Linked DNA regions of Homo sapiens: region 2 is linked to region 1. Evidence: promoter capture Hi-C in 16 types of primary human blood cells and fetal thymus (Javierre and others, 2016). All regions are on one chromosome and are shown on one strand. Each heading gives the region's core, a stretch centred on a gene start or on the middle of the fragment in contact. The rest is flanking DNA. Distances are from core to core; before and after follow the strand shown.

Region 1 (3,215 bases), core at 259-2,758:
ACATGACTAGAAGTCTACACATTTGAGCTTCTTAGGTTGGAACTGTGAGAACCAGACACTTTCTCATTGACAACTGCTACAATCATTTCTTGTTTTTCACCTCCCTGTCTTTAACCTGTCCCTAAAATGAAACATGCTAGCTAAACCTAATTTAGGCAGATTCATTTAAACACGAAAATGGCTCATTAAAACCAAAGTAACAGCCTAGAATTTAAACCAAAACATAGGATGTATATTTACACAGCCTCATTTACATTATAGTCTATTCCCCACCCCCACCCCCCCAAAAACAAAACAAAACAAAACTGATATTCAAATCGTACTTTAAGGCAAAAATCCAGAAATTATTTTTGCACTTGCATCAGCTGGGAGCATTATTTATAAAGCTGTTTGGCATATGTGACTCATTTATTCCAAGACTTTAAAAAGTATTTAAGAGAAATCCCACCTGGTACAGAGCAGGGTAGGAATACTTGCATTTGAAGTGCATAAATTTGGGTCTTCAAATGATAACTTAGACTTTTCGCACGAGTCATTCAAAAGTAATAGTATTATTCCTTCAAAAAAAAAAAATATCTCTTCCACACTCCAAAGCATTCAGGCTCACACTAGACACTCCAGCTCTTCCACTGTGTCCGTTTAAGTATCACTTATGAGGAGAAAATGCACACAAAATTCTCAGTTCGCCTAAAATAAATAAATGTCTACTATCATTCCTAAATCCACAAGGCAGAATTCTCTTAGAACCATGATGCCAAGAACTTCCACCGCAAGTGAAATTGTCTTCGCAATCTCTGTCTCTAGGAGACTGAAAGGCTGCAGAGACGCTTGAGGATCCTGCAGGGAGGCTAGGGCGGCAGACGGAGGGGGCGGAGGTTAGGGGAGAGTCCCACAGAGGAACTGCATTAGAAGGAAAGATTTTGATAACGTCTAAGGGAGAGGCGGTTAGCTACAGGGGGAAAAAAACAGACCTATTTCCATATTATGTACGTTGTAAAGAAAACGCAAAGTGATGAGGGTAAGGAAACGTTGCCAAAAACAAACAAACAAAAACAAAAAAAAATTAACCCTCTGCGGCCGGAGGGTTAAGAGAAGTCGACAAAAGGAGAAGGGGGAGGCGAATAAAGGCCCCAAAGACCAGGAATTGAAAAAAAATACCCGATTTGTGAGCTTGGCCGTGGTCCAGATCTTCTGTCCTGATAAGCAGATGGCAAGAGGAAAGGATCGCAGTTACTCAGGGTGGTAGAGAGTAACGCGTTTACAAGGGTGACGAGCCCTGCACAAGAAGATGTCGCCTCTCTTTCCACCTGCTCCGCTCAGTCCTTTGCCTCTTACTCTAGCACCAGTGGCATTCGGGCAAAACACTGCCAAAGCCTGCACCGCTGGAGGACAGCAAAAGGAAAATACCTGAGTCTCAGTAATCACACGGGCAGCGACAGGAGGAGGAACCGCGGACAACTGGAGCCTGGGCTGGATCCTCACTAGCTCCGGTCAAACCCTAACTCTTACGGGTGGGGCGGGCAACTTCCGCCCAGAGCAAGGAAAGCGTCACATCCGTCAAATGGCTTCACCCCTCCTCCCTTCTCCGCTGTAGCTGCGTTTACAACGTTCTGACTTCCTCTTCCAGGAGACTTTGGCCTAGTCTCAACACCTGACGTGGACTACATAACCCAGCATTCATCACGGCAAGTGGATTTCCGGGTCAAGAGGTCCGCGCTGGGTACATCACCATGGAAGCAATCGGTTTGGTCACGTGGTGCCCTTGGTTACGCCCGGTGGCAGCTGTGGGGTCTAGGGCTCAGACGGGGGCCATTTTGCCAGAGGCTGCCTCCCGGAGTTGGGGGCGGCCTGGCGGCAGGCTGAAGCTGTTCTTTTGCCTCTTCTGCAGCTTGGGGCTTGGAGAGGATCTGGAAGTCTGGGCTCCATCGAGCCCTTTGGAGACGGCAATGGTTTCTTCCAACCACCACCACCTGACAACCCTGCATGGCGGCTGCCCCCTCCGCGCTGCTTCTGCTGCCGCCCTTTCCAGTCCTCTCTACCTATCGGCTCCAGAGCCGCAGTCGTCCTTCCGCCCCAGAGACCGATGATAGTCGAGTTGGGGGCATTATGAGAGGAGAGAAAAACTACTACTTCCGTGGAGCTGCGGGGGACCACGGTTCCTGCCCCACTACAACTTCGCCTCTGGCCTCGGCCCTCTTGATGCCCTCGGAGGCAGTCTCAAGCAGCTGGTCTGAGTCTGGAGGCGGTTTGTCAGGGGGAGATGAAGAGGACACTCGGCTCCTTCAACTCCTCCGCACTGCCCGGGATCCTTCTGAGGCCTTCCAGGCTTTGCAAGCTGCTTTGCCGCGGCGGGGCGGTCGACTTGGCTTCCCCCGACGCAAGGAAGCTTTGTATCGGGCACTGGGCCGAGTGCTTGTGGAAGGAGGTAGTGATGAGAAGCGGCTCTGCTTGCAACTTCTCTCGGACGTTCTCCGGGGTCAGGGGGAGGCAGGCCAGCTTGAAGAGGCCTTTAGCTTAGCACTTTTGCCTCAACTAGTTGTCTCGTTACGGGAAGAGAATCCAGCCCTGCGGAAAGATGCGCTGCAGATCCTTCATATATGTCTGAAACGTAGTCCTGGAGAGGTGCTGAGAACGCTTATACAACAAGGACTGGAAAGTACCGATGCCCGACTTAGAGCTTCCACAGCACTACTGCTTCCCATCTTGCTTACTACTGAGGACTTGTTGCTTGGTCTGGATCTCACCGAGGTGATAATATCCCTAGCCCGAAAGCTTGGTGATCAGGAGACAGAAGAAGAATCTGAGACAGCTTTCTCCGCACTTCAACAAATTGGGGAGCGACTTGGCCAAGACAGGTTTCAATCTTACATTTCTCGTCTGCCCTCTGCCCTGAGGAGACACTACAATCGCCGCCTGGAGTCCCAGTTTGGAAGTCAGGTTCCTTATTATTTGGAACTTGAAGCCTCTGGATTTCCTGAAGATCCCCTTCCCTGTGCAGTGACTCTTTCCAACAGCAATCTTAAATTTGGGATTATTCCTCAGGAGCTGCATTCACGATTATTGGATCAGGAAGACTATAAGAACCGGACCCAGGCCGTCGAAGAACTAAAGCAGGTGCTGGGAAAATTTAACCCTAGTTCTACTCCTCATTCTAGTCTTGTTGGCTTCATTAGTTTGCTATATAATTTGTTAGACGATTCTAACTTCAAAGTGGT
Region 2 (3,212 bases), core at 713-3,212, 2.5 Mb before region 1:
CTGGGCTCTTGGGCTTTCGGCCTCAGATTGAGCATTACCTCATCAGCCTCCCTGATTCTCAGGCCTTGAGATTTGAACTGAGCCATGCTATCAGCCTCTCTGGTTCTCCAGCTCCCAGGTAATCCATCATGGGACTCCTTATCCTTCAGAATCTTGTGAGCCCATTCCTCTAGTATATTCCCTCTTATCTATTCTATCTATCCATCTATCTATGTTTCTTTCTTTCTATCTATCCATTCATTCATCCTATTGGTTCTGTCTTTCCAGAGAACCATAAGACAGCATGTAAGTCAGATCATGCAGTATCAGTTTCTGTCTTTCTGTTTCTGGCTTATTTTACTTAGCATAATGCCCTCCAGGTTCATTCTGAAAAGATGATTCATAATGATTATGAGAAGATGATTTTTTGATGGGATTTGAGTCAGTAGGAGTATCTCATTATTTTCATCACATTATTAGTTATTTGGTGCATGACATTTTGTTTTTCTAAATTAATGCTTAGCAGTATTAATCAAAGACCCCTTAAGTTAAAGTCCAATGTTTGTATATTTGCCTTTAATACATAAAGGTTATGTCTACATAATAAAGACAGGTAATTAGGATTGATATTAAGAGAAAAGGCAACACACAAAGCCATGTCTTACTTTATTATCTAAGTATTTTAGACTAAATTACCTGTTGCACTTTATAGTAACACCTGTCATTTTATGTAACAAACATATGTTATTAATAGCAGCTTTAGGTATATTAATTGCATTAAGCCTGCCTATACATATAGGATATAAAATATTAACTTTATTTTATAGATGAAAACACATCTTTCCTAAAGTAATAGAACCAGTGTATCAAAAGCATTGAAGATTATTATACATACTCAAAATCTATGCTTTTAAATATTATTACGTATAGTTACCCATCTAACTATCTATTCTTGGAATAATAGATGCATTTCAAATAGCCCTTAACAATTATTAATAGCATTATGAAAACATTTTTAAAACTCTGGTCATTTATTCAAGAATGGCATGCACTCTTACCGGGAGGTTCTGTCTTGGTTCCCACTGATAAAACTCCATTCATGATTTTTACAATCGTATTAGCTTTTACAATGTTTTGCTTAACATGTAAGCAGCTCTTACTATAGAGTTGGTACCTAAAACAGTCAGTTATGTTAAAACTTTCTGTTATGAAAGTAGTTATTAATCATGACAACAATTTTTTTATGTAACTTATATCACTGTGCTAAAATCTGTATCTTCCCTATTTAGATTCCTGCTTGTTGATTATTCACATGCAGTATTTCTATATGATTAGTCTCTTCTACTTCACTGTTCTTTTTTTCTCCCAAATTTATTCTTTCATCAAAGTTCTCGATGTTCTTTGTCATCCAAGAGTATTATTTCAGTCTAGAAGTAAATTTTATCTCTCCTTTGTTTCTTTATATTTAATTTAAAGACAATCATTTAAAAATTTGAAAACAAATATTTTATTAAATAAATATGTATTCATTTAGTGTTTTTCATGAAGTAAATAAGTGAACTATATTATAAATAATTCCTTAAAATAATACCTACTTGTAAGCTGCCAAAAACAGTTTATGAAATAATAGCGGTTGTTTTGGTGATAAATAGATCCCTATATATTTATTACCTAGAGAGCACAGTTTACATAGAAATATTGTCTTTATTCTGCAGTTCAAGTTGTGAATATTTGGCAGACACCATTGTAGTTTCTCTCTGAATAGAATCAAGACCATATGTTTAACAAGGAGTTAAGATTTAGTGGTGTATAAAAACAAAGTGTCTAAATTCTAATGACACTATTTACTAATCTAATAATACAATGTCACCACTTTTCACTTTGATGTCAAACTCAACTTTGTATTCTAAAGCCTTCTGAAATGCTCACTCTTCACTCAGTGAAATATGGGGAAAAAGACATTTTAATTAACTTAGTTGAAAAATATAAAACATATACATTTAGGTTTAGAGATTTAGAATTTTTTAATATACTCCCTCAGCTTTAGTCAATATAAAAATAATTTGTTTCACTTATAGTATGCTTATTTTTGATTTCCCTGAAAAATTTCAATGTAAGAAGCAAAATTATATTGGATACATGGGATTATATTCATTGCAGATTTTGTAATCCTCATATATCACAGACTAATTAGTAATGAAATAAGATTGTATAATGACAGATCCTCTGTATTCCCATAGAAAATGCAGGACTGTTCACACAGTTAAACTGTGAGAGCATGTTTCCACTTGACATTTATGGAATTGTAGCTTGGCACACTCTTTGTTTTAACAGAGAAAAAGCTGATATAAATGTAAATCTAAAAGACATTCTGGCAGCAATATTTTATTATTTCCTACTCAACTGAGTTGAATGAATGAATTTTAAAAATTGACATTTTTTGGTGTTCCCTCTAGAAAATAGTAATTTAGCTTATATTGAAAATAACAGAGTAATGGCAACGCTTAATAGTAACTAAGAATCTCATGTTTGTTATGAATTTACCAGAGTAATGGAGGGCCTTAATGGTGTTTTTTTAAGAGGTTAGTATTTTCACATATATATCACAAGAAACACAGCTGGATCTCCACAGTCAGATTTCAAATTTTTTTTTTTATATTCAGAAATCCAGTTCCACTTTCTAGTGCACGTCTTTCTTCAAATAGCCCATCAATTATCTCCAGCGTGTCTTCTGTGGAAGGCAGAAGGTTGTTGATACAGCTGACGGTTATGCCTTATCCAGTCTCTGTTTTTGAGAGGCCAAGTTCAATATTTCTCAATGTTACAATAACTATATAAACATAACCAAATAAATTAATTAAATAAATTTTCCTCAAATGATAATTATGCATGTTAAAATGTGATAAATAGATATTTTCCCATTACCAATATTATAAATATTATGTGGCCAAAGCCAATGTTAAAATTTTTATTCCTTCAATCATACAAATTAATATTAAGAAGTCTTATTGATTGTTTCCTATATCAAGACACTTTTTTAAACATTTTGTATGCACTGACTCATAGAAACCTCATTATACCTTAAACAACAGGGACAATTATTTTCCTTATCTATATGGAGAAATTTAGTCATGGAACAGCTTAGGTTATTGCTCAGAATCACACAACTGGTGGATCTGGAATGCAGCTCAGGCATTCTGGTTGCTGAGCAAGGGCCCTTAACTTCTGTGATA

The links. The method cuts DNA at HindIII sites, captures the fragments that hold promoters and counts their contacts. A CHiCAGO score of 5 or more calls a contact.
Region 2: a fragment that was not itself captured here is called in contact with the fragment with the promoter of KLHL28 in region 1 in 1 of 17 cell types (total B cells); the score reaches 5.8 in total B cells.

The regions. Positions count from the first base shown.
Region 1 is chr14:44,960,439-44,963,653 of GRCh38, forward strand. KLHL28 (kelch like family member 28) reads right to left here and starts at 1,509. Exons shown (of 5, transcript NM_017658.5): 1 at 1,408-1,509. TOGARAM1 (TOG array regulator of axonemal microtubules 1) reads left to right here and starts at 1,752. Exons shown (of 20, transcript NM_001308120.2): 1 at 1,752-3,215. The coding sequence starts at 1,984. RefSeq lists enhancers at 576-665, 1,180-1,694, 1,236-2,045, 1,695-2,209. The HindIII fragment of the contact is 5,188 bases long and covers 1-2,384 here.
Region 2 is chr14:42,421,539-42,424,750 of GRCh38, forward strand. No RefSeq gene overlaps it. Among named protein-coding and RNA genes, the nearest start is that of LRFN5, 820 kb to the left of the region's middle. The HindIII fragment of the contact is 9,653 bases long and covers 1-3,212 here.